2 separate regions of the Homo sapiens genome follow, and region 2 is linked to region 1. Evidence: promoter capture Hi-C in human tissues and cell types (Jung and others, 2019). All regions are on one chromosome and are shown on one strand. Each heading gives the region's core, a stretch centred on a gene start or on the middle of the fragment in contact. The rest is flanking DNA. Distances are from core to core; before and after follow the strand shown.

Region 1 (5,277 bases), core at 934-3,433:
GTTTGAAGGGCATGAGCACGTAACACAGGTGGTAGGCTTGTGGTATGACCATCATGCAGCTGTCCTTGGCATCATCGAAAACCCGTGCACACTTCAGGTAAGGGTTGCCCAGTTCCGAGTTGCACACATCGCCGATGTGCAGGAGCCACTGCCACACATTCCGGAGAGCCCTGGCTGGGGACAGCTGCAGGGTTGGCACCCAGGGCTGGAATCCTACAGCCTCTTCTCAGGGTTTTGGGGAACAATACCACAGTATCCAGGGCTGGAGAGGCCTGTGGTCAGGGACCTGGCTGTGCTGTGTCCAGTGAACACTAGCCAGCGCCCAGAAGGGGCCCAAAAAACCCTGGACAGGGTACAGGTGAGGAGACTGAATTTTTTTGTTTCTGTTTGTTTGTTTTGTTTTGTTTTGTTTTGAGATGGAGTTTCGCTCTTGTTGCCCAGGCTAGAGTGCAGTGGAGTGATCTCGGCTCATTGCAACCTCCGCCTCCTGGGTTCAAGAGATTCTCCTGCCTCAGCCTCCTGAGTAGCTGGGACTACAGCTGCGTGCCACCACGCCCGGCTAACTTTTTGTATTTTTAGTAGAGACGGGGTTTCACGATGTCAGCCAGGATGGTCTTGATCTCCTGACCTCCTGATCCACCGCCTCAGCCTCCCAAAGTGCTGGGATTACAGGTGTGAGCCACCGCACCTGGCCCCCCCGCTTTTTTTTTTCTTTAGAGATGGAGTCTCACACTGTCACCCAGGCTGGATTGGAGTACAGTGGCACGATCATAGCTCACTGCAGCCTCAAACCCCTGGGTTCAAGAGATCCTTCCACCATAGCCTCCCCAGTAGCTGGGACTACAGACATGTGTCATTACATCTGGCTAGTTTTATTTATTTTCTATTTTTTTATTTTTTATAGAGACAGGGTCTCGCCATGTTGCCAAGGCTGGTCTCAAACTCCTGGGCTCAAGTGATTCTCCCACCTCGGCCTCGCAAAGTGCTGGGATTACAGGCATGAGCCACCGCACCCGGCCAGGACTGGGTGCATTTTGAGTCCCCGGGATAGACATGCTAATGTGCTTACCTATGTGTTTCACACCATCCATGATTGACCGAAAGAACTTGCGGACCCGGTCAGCCACCTCTTTGGTCTTCCGGGCAATAGCTTTAATCTTGTTCAGGGCACCTGATGGGTGAGGGACAGAGGCACTTTGGAGTCTTCTCCTCTAGGGGCTGGTTCTCACCATTGCCCCTTAAGCAGGGAGTAGAGAGGAGGCCACCATTTCCAGAGGCGGGAAGCCTGGATTCTGGGGCCTGGGAGATCGTTAATCTGGGAGTGGAGGAGGCCAGAGAGCAAGGAGAGAGGGTTTAGCTGTGCCCAGAGTCCCTTCCAGGCCCAGATGCTCCGCGATTAGCACCAGCAGAGAAGGAGGCCAAAGGACTGTAGAACATGCAGGATGAGGGGGGCGAGGGGGGCCCGTGGGAGACAGTGGTAGAGGTGGGGGACTTACTGACAAGAGGTTGCTTGGCCCTCTGTAGCACTTCGGCGGTCTGGTTCAGGGCCAGCTCTGCCCCACAGGCTACAGCCTCGCTGGCCCGGGTGAAGTTGCGTAGAGTGTTGGCACAAGGCCCTTGAAGCACCAACCCAAAAGCAGCCACCAACAGTAGTGTCCGGCCCTGCCCTGGGGGCGACAGCTTTGTTAGAACCAAGACCCCAGCCCCAAACATGGCAGCAAGTCCCTTACATAAGCCTTCAGAATATTTCCCTTAACCCCTGCCTCTCCTCCAGCATCTCTTCTGCCCCAGCACCAGCCCCAGGACCTGCCCCCTAGCCCTGGGTGCCAAGCTCACTGGAGAAGGCCTGAGGCAGCAGCAGGAGGACAGTGGCTCGGACCTGGCGAGAGAATCCCATGCCCAGGCTAAGGAAGGCAGCCAAAGTGAGGGTGCCCACCAGGCAACCCCAGGGGCTGTGGCCTTCCACCAGTAGCTCCAGAAGCCCGTAGGCCGTGGCTAAAGACAAGCCCAGGGTAAAACCTCCCACGCTGCGAACCACAGCTCTCGCCATGCTAGGCTCCTCTCCCCCCAAGGGGTGCACAACATCCTTCATGACTTTGGGCATGGCTGCTGAGACCAAATGTCTGCCTGTCTCCAGGAGATGCCCGCTGACTTCTGTGCTCCTGGAATTTCTCACCGTATTCTAAGGTTCCAAAGGGCTTTCACTGCATATGTCTTGGAATCCTTGACCCAGTTCCGAGGACTGGAGAGGGGATAGGTAGGTCTCTAATCTCCTTCCCCACTTCTCGGAGCAGAAGGATTAAAAGGCCCAGAGCTCAGGCCTAGGCTTCCCATGAAGCGGAAGAGACAGGCAGCACCTCTCTTCTCTCACCAGAACCTTGTGTCCAAGGAGGTCCTTCAGGAGACCTGGGATGAGTGGTGCTTCCCCAAAACAGACTCATGGACATTAAACATCATCAGAATGGCACAAGAGGGCAAAGAAGAAAACAGCCTCATACCAGTGAGTCACTCAGCAGAGACCCAGTATCCCTTGACCTCCACTCTCATCCCATCTCTCCTCCTGGAACTCCTGCACACTATCCCCCAACTCGGTGTCCGCGCCTCCACCACCTCTCTGGTCTAGTGCCTCCCGCCTCCCAGCCCAGCCCTTGCCTTTGCTGTCCCTTACACCCATACCACTTCCTCAGGCTCCCTCATCCTCCTCCAGGGTCCCCTAAGTTCCTACTGTTTCACATGCCAGGTTTCCCCAGCCTCTATCCACCTGCAAGCCCTGAATCCTAATGAGCCCCATCCCAGGCAGAAGAGTGGGCTGTTGAGCTACCCTGTCCCCCTCTTAGCGGTGCAGAGGCTCCTGACCTGGGGGCTGCCAGTCTCCTGTAGCTGGTTCCTGTGGCGCCAGCCGGGCGAGTTTCCTGTCACTGCTCTCCTGCTGGGGGCAGGCGCTGGGGGGCTCCTGGCCATAGGTGAGTGTGGAAGCAGAAAGTTCGGGGTGGGCAGAGGCTGGACCAGGGCTAGGACCCATCTTTTGGCCTTTGGCTTGACCTTGTGCCCTTAGGTCTCTTTCAGCTCCTGGTGAACCCCATGAACATCTACGAAGAACAGAAGATTATGTTCTTGTACAGCTTGGTGGGTTAGTGCTGGGCAAAAGCCAGGAACACTCAAGCGGCCTGTGGAACACAGCGCCGTCCTGCATGCCCAGGAAGGAGTCGGGACTTGTTTCTTCTGTACCCATACATCCCCTGTGGCTTCCGCCTCCTCCTGGGCTTTACGGGGAGGTCCAGAGGGAAGAGGCTGCCAATTTAAGAAGGAAGACACCGTCCTTGCCCTGAGGGAGTCTCTCCATTCCGAGGGACTCCCCATCACCCACATGATATAGTCCAACCCCATAACCCTTCATAACTCTCATCTCTCCTGACCTGTCTGACCTCGTTTTCTGATCCTCCTAAGAAATTAAATTCATTCATTCATTCATTCATTCACTCAGCACTTACTGAGAATCTGCTGAGGATTTAGCAGTAAACAAGGATGACAAGCATCCAGCCGTTTTGCTTTGGTTTTGTTTGTATGTTTTTGTTTTCGTTTTGAGACGGAGTCTCGCTCTGTTGCCCAGGCTGGAGTGCAGTGGCTCAATCTCAGCTCACTGCAACCTCCACCTCCCAGGTTCAAGCCATTCTCCTGCTCAGCCTCCCAAGTAGCTGGGATTACAGGCACCCATCACCATGCCCAGCTAATTTTTGTATTTTTAGTAGAGACGGGGTTTCTGTATGTTGGCCAGGCAGGTCTCGAACTTCTGACCTCAAAAGATCTACCTGCCTCGGCCTCCCAAAGTTCTGGGATTACAGGTGTAAGCCACCGTGCCCAGCCCAGTTTGGATAATTTAACAGCTCAGTAGCTTCGAGAAGGACTCAGGTTCCTTCTGTCTTTTCTCTGCCATCTTCAGTCTATTGACCACTTCTCTTCAGGTCACAAGATAGCTGCAGCAACTCTGGCATCACATCTTCATACAATAATATCAAAGATCAGAAAAAAATAAAAAAAGAGGAAGAAACAGGCCAGGCACAATGGCTCACGCCTGTAATCCCAGCACTTTGGGAGGCTGAGGCGGGTGGATCACCTGAGGTCAGGAGTTTGAGACCAGCCTGGCCAACATGGTGAAACCCTGTCTCCACTAAAAATACAAAAATTAGCCGGATGTGGTGGTGCACACCTGTAGTCCCAGCTTCTTGGGAGGCTGAGGCAGGAGGCTTGCTTGAACCCAGGAGGCAGAGATTGCAGTGAGTGGAGATCGTGCCACTGCACTCCAGCCTGGGTGACAAGAGCGAAAGGCCATCTCAAAAAAAAGAAAAGAATAGAAGTTCAATCCCAGGCCCAACTTCACTGTCTTGGGCTGTGCGATTTGAGGCCAGGGAAAAAGGAAAATGACCTAGGTGACAGAGTGAAACTCTGTCTCAAAAAAAAAAAAAAAAAAAAAAAAGGAAGAAACATCCTTTCCTCATGTCTCTTTTTAGGAACAAGGGAAACTTGCCTATAATCCCCACAGTAGACTTCCTCACATCTCTTTGGTCAGAACTGCGTGCAACACATGCCCTTTCCTGAACCTGTCCCAGGCAAGGGAAATAGAATTAGCATTTCATCACCTGTTTATTGAATTAATCCTGCTGGATACCAACAGGAGACTACTTTTTCTCTGACCCACTGTATTCAAACATGTTTTTTCCCATTGATAACCTTTCACACAGCCCCTTAGATTTCTGGTTGTATTTCTTTAGAAGACCTAGTCCTACTTCAACAATTAAGACTTATTTTTAGGGGTTAAAGAGGTCCAGTCCACTCTACATCAGACTTTTAACCTCATCCATTCTCAAGCATCTTCCCTCCTTATCTTGCCCTCCCCATCCCTTGCGCCCCCAGCTCAGGCCTGCTCCCTAGCATGGGGTCCTGCAATGGAGAAGGGGCGTGGCCTGCTCTTTCCCTTTTTTCCTCTACTTCCTTCCCTTTCTGGTTCTTCTGATGTCAGAAGGGAGATTAGAAGAATTAGAGGAAAAGGGACAAAAGTCTTAAGTCACTAATGCTATTATAATTCCACTGTGGATGCCTGCGTGTAGCAGGCACTCACACCCTGGCTGTCCCAGTAGGCCTGATTATTGTCCCCTTGGAGGCTGTGTGTGGACCTCGGCAATGCCCGGTTTCTTGCAGAGGGCAGTTCTTTTTGGCTGACCTCGAGTGAAGCCCCCCTTCAGGGGCCACCCACAGCCTCTTGCTTTTTGGATCCCTCCC
Region 2 (5,277 bases), core at 1,869-4,368, 550 kb before region 1:
ACCCCGTTTCTACTAACAATACAAAAATTAGCTGGGTGTTGTGGCGCATGCCTGTAGTCCCAGCTACTTGGGAGGCTGAGGCAGGAGAATTGCTGGAACCTGGGAGGTGGAGGTTGCAGTGAGTTGAGATTGCACCACTGCACTCCAGCCTGGGCGACAGAGCAAGACACTGTCTCAAAAAAAAAAAAAAAAAAAGAAAGAAAAGAAAAGAAAACTCTGCACTCATTAAACAACTCCCCATTTCCTCCTTCCCCAGCCCCTGGCAACTACCATTCTACTTTCTATGAATTTGACTACTCTGGGTACCTCATGTAAGTGGAATCATACAGTATTTGTCTTTTTGTGACTGACGGGTTTCACTCAGCGTAATGGTCTGTGTCAGGATTCCCTTCCTTGTTGAGGCTGAATGATACTCTGCTGTATTGCCAGCGTCAGTTATGGGAGTAGCAAGATAATGAAGCACACCCTGCCCAGTGGCTTCCAGAAGTTCCTGGTCTACAAGGTCAAGGAGCCGGAATGAAGCGCTGCTGATGTGCAACAAATTATACTGAGCTGAGATTGCTCACAATGTTTCCTCCAGAACCACAAGGCCACTGTGGAGCGAGCAGCCCCGTGGGCCATCAGTCACCACTCCCAAGGCCAGGCTGTGCAGCGAAGAAAATGAACAGACAACTCAGTCTATGTTTTGTTTTTAAATGAAATCATAAAAAGTGCAAAAAAAAAAAAAAAAAAAACACTCTAGAGTGAGACCTGGGCCGCAATCTGGGCTCTACCACTTACTATGACTGACCCAAGACAAGTTATTTCATCATTCTAAGCACCCGTGTTTTTATCTGAAAAACAAGGTTCCCACCTGGCTGAGTTGTGGCAGATTAAATGAGATGCTGTATGATGAAAAGCATTTGTTCAGCAGCACACCTGGTGCGGAAAAAGAGTCTATTCTCACTACTTACATCTTGGCCTTTCACAGGGTCAGAATCCAACATTCAACACTCAAACCCTGGGTGCTTGTAAACACGTGTTCAATCTGAATTCTGAAAACCATTACTCTAATTGCTCGGGTGGTGGGTGGCGGGAGCATTTCTTAATGCAAACTTCCTCTTCTCTTAAACACAGATGGGTTAAAACAATAGGCACTTGTTCCACCTGGTGGCAACTTACATAAATGTTTAATGGAAGTTAAAAACTTGAAACCATGTTAGGAATTTTGGAGGGGAAAACTTTTTGATAGCAGACTCAACAGTATGCCCTTCTAGGACCTGACGTGAATTTATTTGTGCATTTCCAAATAGGAGCTTCCAACAGGGCTTCTCCACCATTGGCTGTGTATCCAAATCACCTGGTACAATTTTTTTTTAAAATAGGTTTTTGAACTTTGCAACAGACTTAGGGCATCCCACAGATGGCATGGGACATTTGTATTAATAACAAACTGATAAAAACAGAAGCAGAGCCCAAATCTTCTATCTAGTGAGGGATGAGAACCAGTGCACTAACTTTCGACTCAGGAAGAGATGGGCCAGGAAATGGCAGTAAAACATCACTGTATTACTATTTTACTTGGGAAGAAAAACATAATAGAAGGACTCTAAATGTGAACAGAGTAAATAAAAGATAGAATCTGCTGGTTATGTTCCATCATGGTGTTTCTATATTTCATTAATGGTGACTGCAAATGAAACTCTGCTGTAGCTCTTACCATGGGAAGTATTTTTCTGAAGGAAGATGATTCTCAGAGCTAACTGAATTAAGCAAAACCACTGTAGTTTTCTTGGAATAATGTTTATTTAAAGTTACATTTCAGAGGAAACTATCTTCAGGAGGGCATGAAGCCTATATTGGCTACTGCAAAACAACCAGAAGTTTTATAAAATATTTCTGATTTAAATTACTAAGGCACTATAGATAGACACCTATATTACATACAATCTTCAAACATTTTTAAAAGTTGAAACTATGTATTAGTTGATATCTAAAATATTAAAGCCCCTGACAAACTGAACGGCTAAGAACTTGACAAAATGAGACGCCTGTTTCAATGATTCTGTTGCCAGCATATTAATTAAAATACAATTTGAGATTCTAAATTACACGATCCAGCCTTAGTCCAGGGACCTTGTGATGATAGTTGTATTAGACTTCAAAACACCCTTTCCGCAGGAAAGGGCATTTTTCAAGATGGCAACTGCTGTGTCATCATTTTCCCTTTTCTGGACTGTATCAGAAATCCTTCAGAAAGCCCTACCCTTAAATGCACAGCTGCTTTTCCCAACTGCAGTTTTCTCTTTTCCCATTAGATGGCAGTAACGCACCATCTCTCTTCACACAGGGTCAGCGGTGGAGGGTAAGTTGAACAGAAGGCCCACTGCACAGCAGGCCAAGTTTCTCTAGTCCACGTTAGTGGGGCACAAAAATTGGAAATGAGAATACAGAAGAGTGATTCTAACCAGGTCATAAGGCCAAACTAGTGCTAGTTATGGAAAAATAGGAGACAACTAGTGAACGAGAGATCTGTGAAGGGTTTCAGTGCAATCCTGCTGAGTGTCAAGGGGTGCGGGGAAGGGAAATGAAATCGACATCACTGCACTCCCTAAACCCTGGAAGGAGGGAGAAACAAGGGGCTAACCTTTGACTGAAAAAGGGCATCTGACAGAACAGAAACTAACCCCACTTAACCCGCAACTGAAGAATGCCTCACAGTTATTCTTCTGAATATCAAGATGCATCCAGTAACAACAGCCAATAACAGACTAGTAACAGAGTTACATAATCCAATTAACAAATTAGGACAATTTCCCACCACCTGCCTCAAAAACTCCTGGCTGCCCCTATCAGCTACCTGCCCACCTCCCCATCCTGCGGCAGAGGCTAGTACACAAATACCAATTCTGCAAAGTACGGAGACTTCCAACAGCAAAGAATAAAGGCTTTCTAAAATGCTTAAGAAAGTGCTTTGAATAACTTAAAATGACACTTCTGCCCCCAACAGAGAGTAGATATATCAATATTTACCTTTTTGTATACATATTAACACTTCTCCATTATTTTATTCCTAGCTTAAATACACACAAGGCCAGTGGTTTGCAGGCCATCCTGAGATACAACTATGGTATCAAAGTAAATAGCAAGGTCCTTTACTCTCTCTTCTTATAGGCCTGAAACTAACCAACTGAACTTGTCCAGTCATCGCAAGCAAGTATTTTTTTTAAAGAAGGTGTGATCAAGAAGAACACTGACACAGCTCTATGGATGCTAAATTCAAGGCAAATTCACTGAAAGACATTCTTCTCACCAGAGAATATCCTGGGAGATGGAATAACTCGAAGGAATGAGGACTACAGGAAAATACTTGTCTCAAGACAAAATGACAAAAAGCCAGAGCATTCAGAGCTCAGAGAACATGTCACAGAGCTTCAGATCAGCTGGCCATGGAGGTTTAACAAGGAAGCCATTAGGGACACCCTGCTGGGCCTAATTGTTTTTAGAACATATGGAACTTTGTGCCACCACACAGCTGTGAACTCCCTGGCTTTTGTCAGCTTGTGTCACAACCTCAAGAAGAAAATAGCTCACTAACGCCCCCACCTCTGACTTCCCACTAATTTACTATATTTCTTCTTATAACCTCCTGTACAACTGTAAAGCAACTGGACAATATGTAAACTCTGCCTCTCCTCTACTTTTAATTCTATAAAGAATATAGTATGACTTGTCACAGAGAAACAGTATAGAAGAAGCATAATACTGGGCATATGACAGAAGCTCAATAAATACTTAATGTATCTGGCCTGTTTTCAAGATGTTATTTCATTATACATTCATCACAGTTGCTGGGTATGGGCCAAAAATCATTTAGTGCACAAAGAAAAATTGTATAAAGCTTTTAGCATTTATTAAAATTAGAATAACTGCTGTATTCCCTTTGTAGAATAAGGTTAAGTAAAAACGTTTCATTTCTAGAATGTTAAACTAAAAATAAGTTTAACACAATGAATAATTTGTATAAAGATAATAAATATTTGTTGAATGGATGCTGAAAAAACCTTTTAAAATCTTACACTAAAGATATAGTAAATGAACCAATACACACTGAAAACATTCTATCAGTATCTGAAAAAAACATTCCTTTTGGTTTTTTGTTTGCTTGCTTGTTGAGACAGGGTCTCACTCTGTCACTCAGGCTGGAGTGCAATGGTGCGATCATGGCTCGCTGCAGCCTTGACCTGAGCAGAGGTGATCCACCTACCTCAGCCTCCCGAATAGCTGGAACCACAGGCATCCACCACCAGGCCAGGCTTTTTTTTTTTTTTTTTTTTGAGATGGAGTTTCGCTCTTGTCACCCAGGATGGAGTGCAGTGACATAATCTTGGCTCACTGCAACCTCCACCTCCTGGGCTCAAGTGATTCTCGTGCCTCAGCCTCCCAAGCAGCTGGAACTACAGGTGCCCGCCACCGTGCCCAGCTAATTTTTGTATTTTTACTACAGACAGGGTTTCACCATGTTGGCCAGGCTGGTCTCAAACTCCTGACCTCACGTGATCTGCCTGCCTCAGCCTCCCAAATTGTTGGGATTACGTGCATGAGCCACCGCACCCAGCCTACATTCTTTATTAATAAAATCATTGTGTTCCAGTGAGGAAAAGTTCCTCTTAAATTTTTAAAATCAAAGATCACACAACCTTTTGGCTGAGATCTTATCTGAATAAAGAAGCAAAAATTTACTAACCTCTAAATCTTACAGTCAAATGTAACTAGTAACTACAAAGGTATACTTTCCTAAAAAATTAACCAAATCAACATTTTGTGTGTATTTATAAGCTACAAAGGTTAACTTTTCATTGATGACAGTCAGTACATTTGCATATGGGGCAGTTTTGAGACCCAAATGACCAACCCCAGAATACAGACACATCTGCTGAATTTTAATTCTGGAGCCATTCACCATAGTACTCTTCTCACAGTATGCCATTCCCATGGTTTTTTTCACAGTAAATAAACTGGTGATATAAGCTCATGATAAATCATAAAGATCCTAATACTATGAATCTTAAGTAATGGTATTTAAGAGAAAACCTCTAGGTCTTTTCAAACACTTCTGTATAGTACAAGGCAGTCTGCTTGGTACAGAACGAGAGAATCTTTGTAGGCTTTAGAGACCCAGTTCATATAATCAGATCTTAGGGTTGCATTTTTAAAAAATTTACTACAAAGCAAATCTAATTTTAGAGACAAAAATTAAAAATTATTCCATAGCAACTAAAATGCCCAATGATGATG

The links. The method cuts DNA at HindIII sites, captures the fragments that hold promoters and counts their contacts. A contact is called where the count stands out against the background at its distance.
Region 2: a contact is called between a fragment that was not itself captured here and the fragment with the promoter of DCST2 in region 1, in 3 of the 25 tissues and cell types used here (dorsolateral prefrontal cortex, lymphoblastoid cells and spleen).

What each region holds. Positions count from the first base shown.
Region 1 is chr1:155,031,598-155,036,874 of GRCh38, forward strand. It overlaps DCST2 (DC-STAMP domain containing 2), which reads right to left and starts at 2,184. Exons shown (of 15, transcript NM_144622.3): 1 at 1,837-2,184; 2 at 1,497-1,667; 3 at 1,070-1,171; 4 at 1-174. The coding sequence starts at 2,104. It overlaps DCST1 (DC-STAMP domain containing 1), which reads left to right and starts at 2,227. Exons shown (of 17, transcript NM_152494.4): 1 at 2,227-2,257; 2 at 2,375-2,500; 3 at 2,838-2,963; 4 at 3,056-3,130. The coding sequence starts at 2,440. The HindIII fragment of the contact is 8,066 bases long and covers 1-4,779 here.
Region 2 is chr1:154,477,715-154,482,991 of GRCh38, forward strand. SHE (Src homology 2 domain containing E) reads right to left here. Exons shown (of 6, transcript NM_001010846.3): 6 at 1,767-5,277. Among named protein-coding and RNA genes, the nearest start is that of TDRD10, 22 kb to the right of the region's middle. The HindIII fragment of the contact is 4,086 bases long and covers 1,076-5,161 here.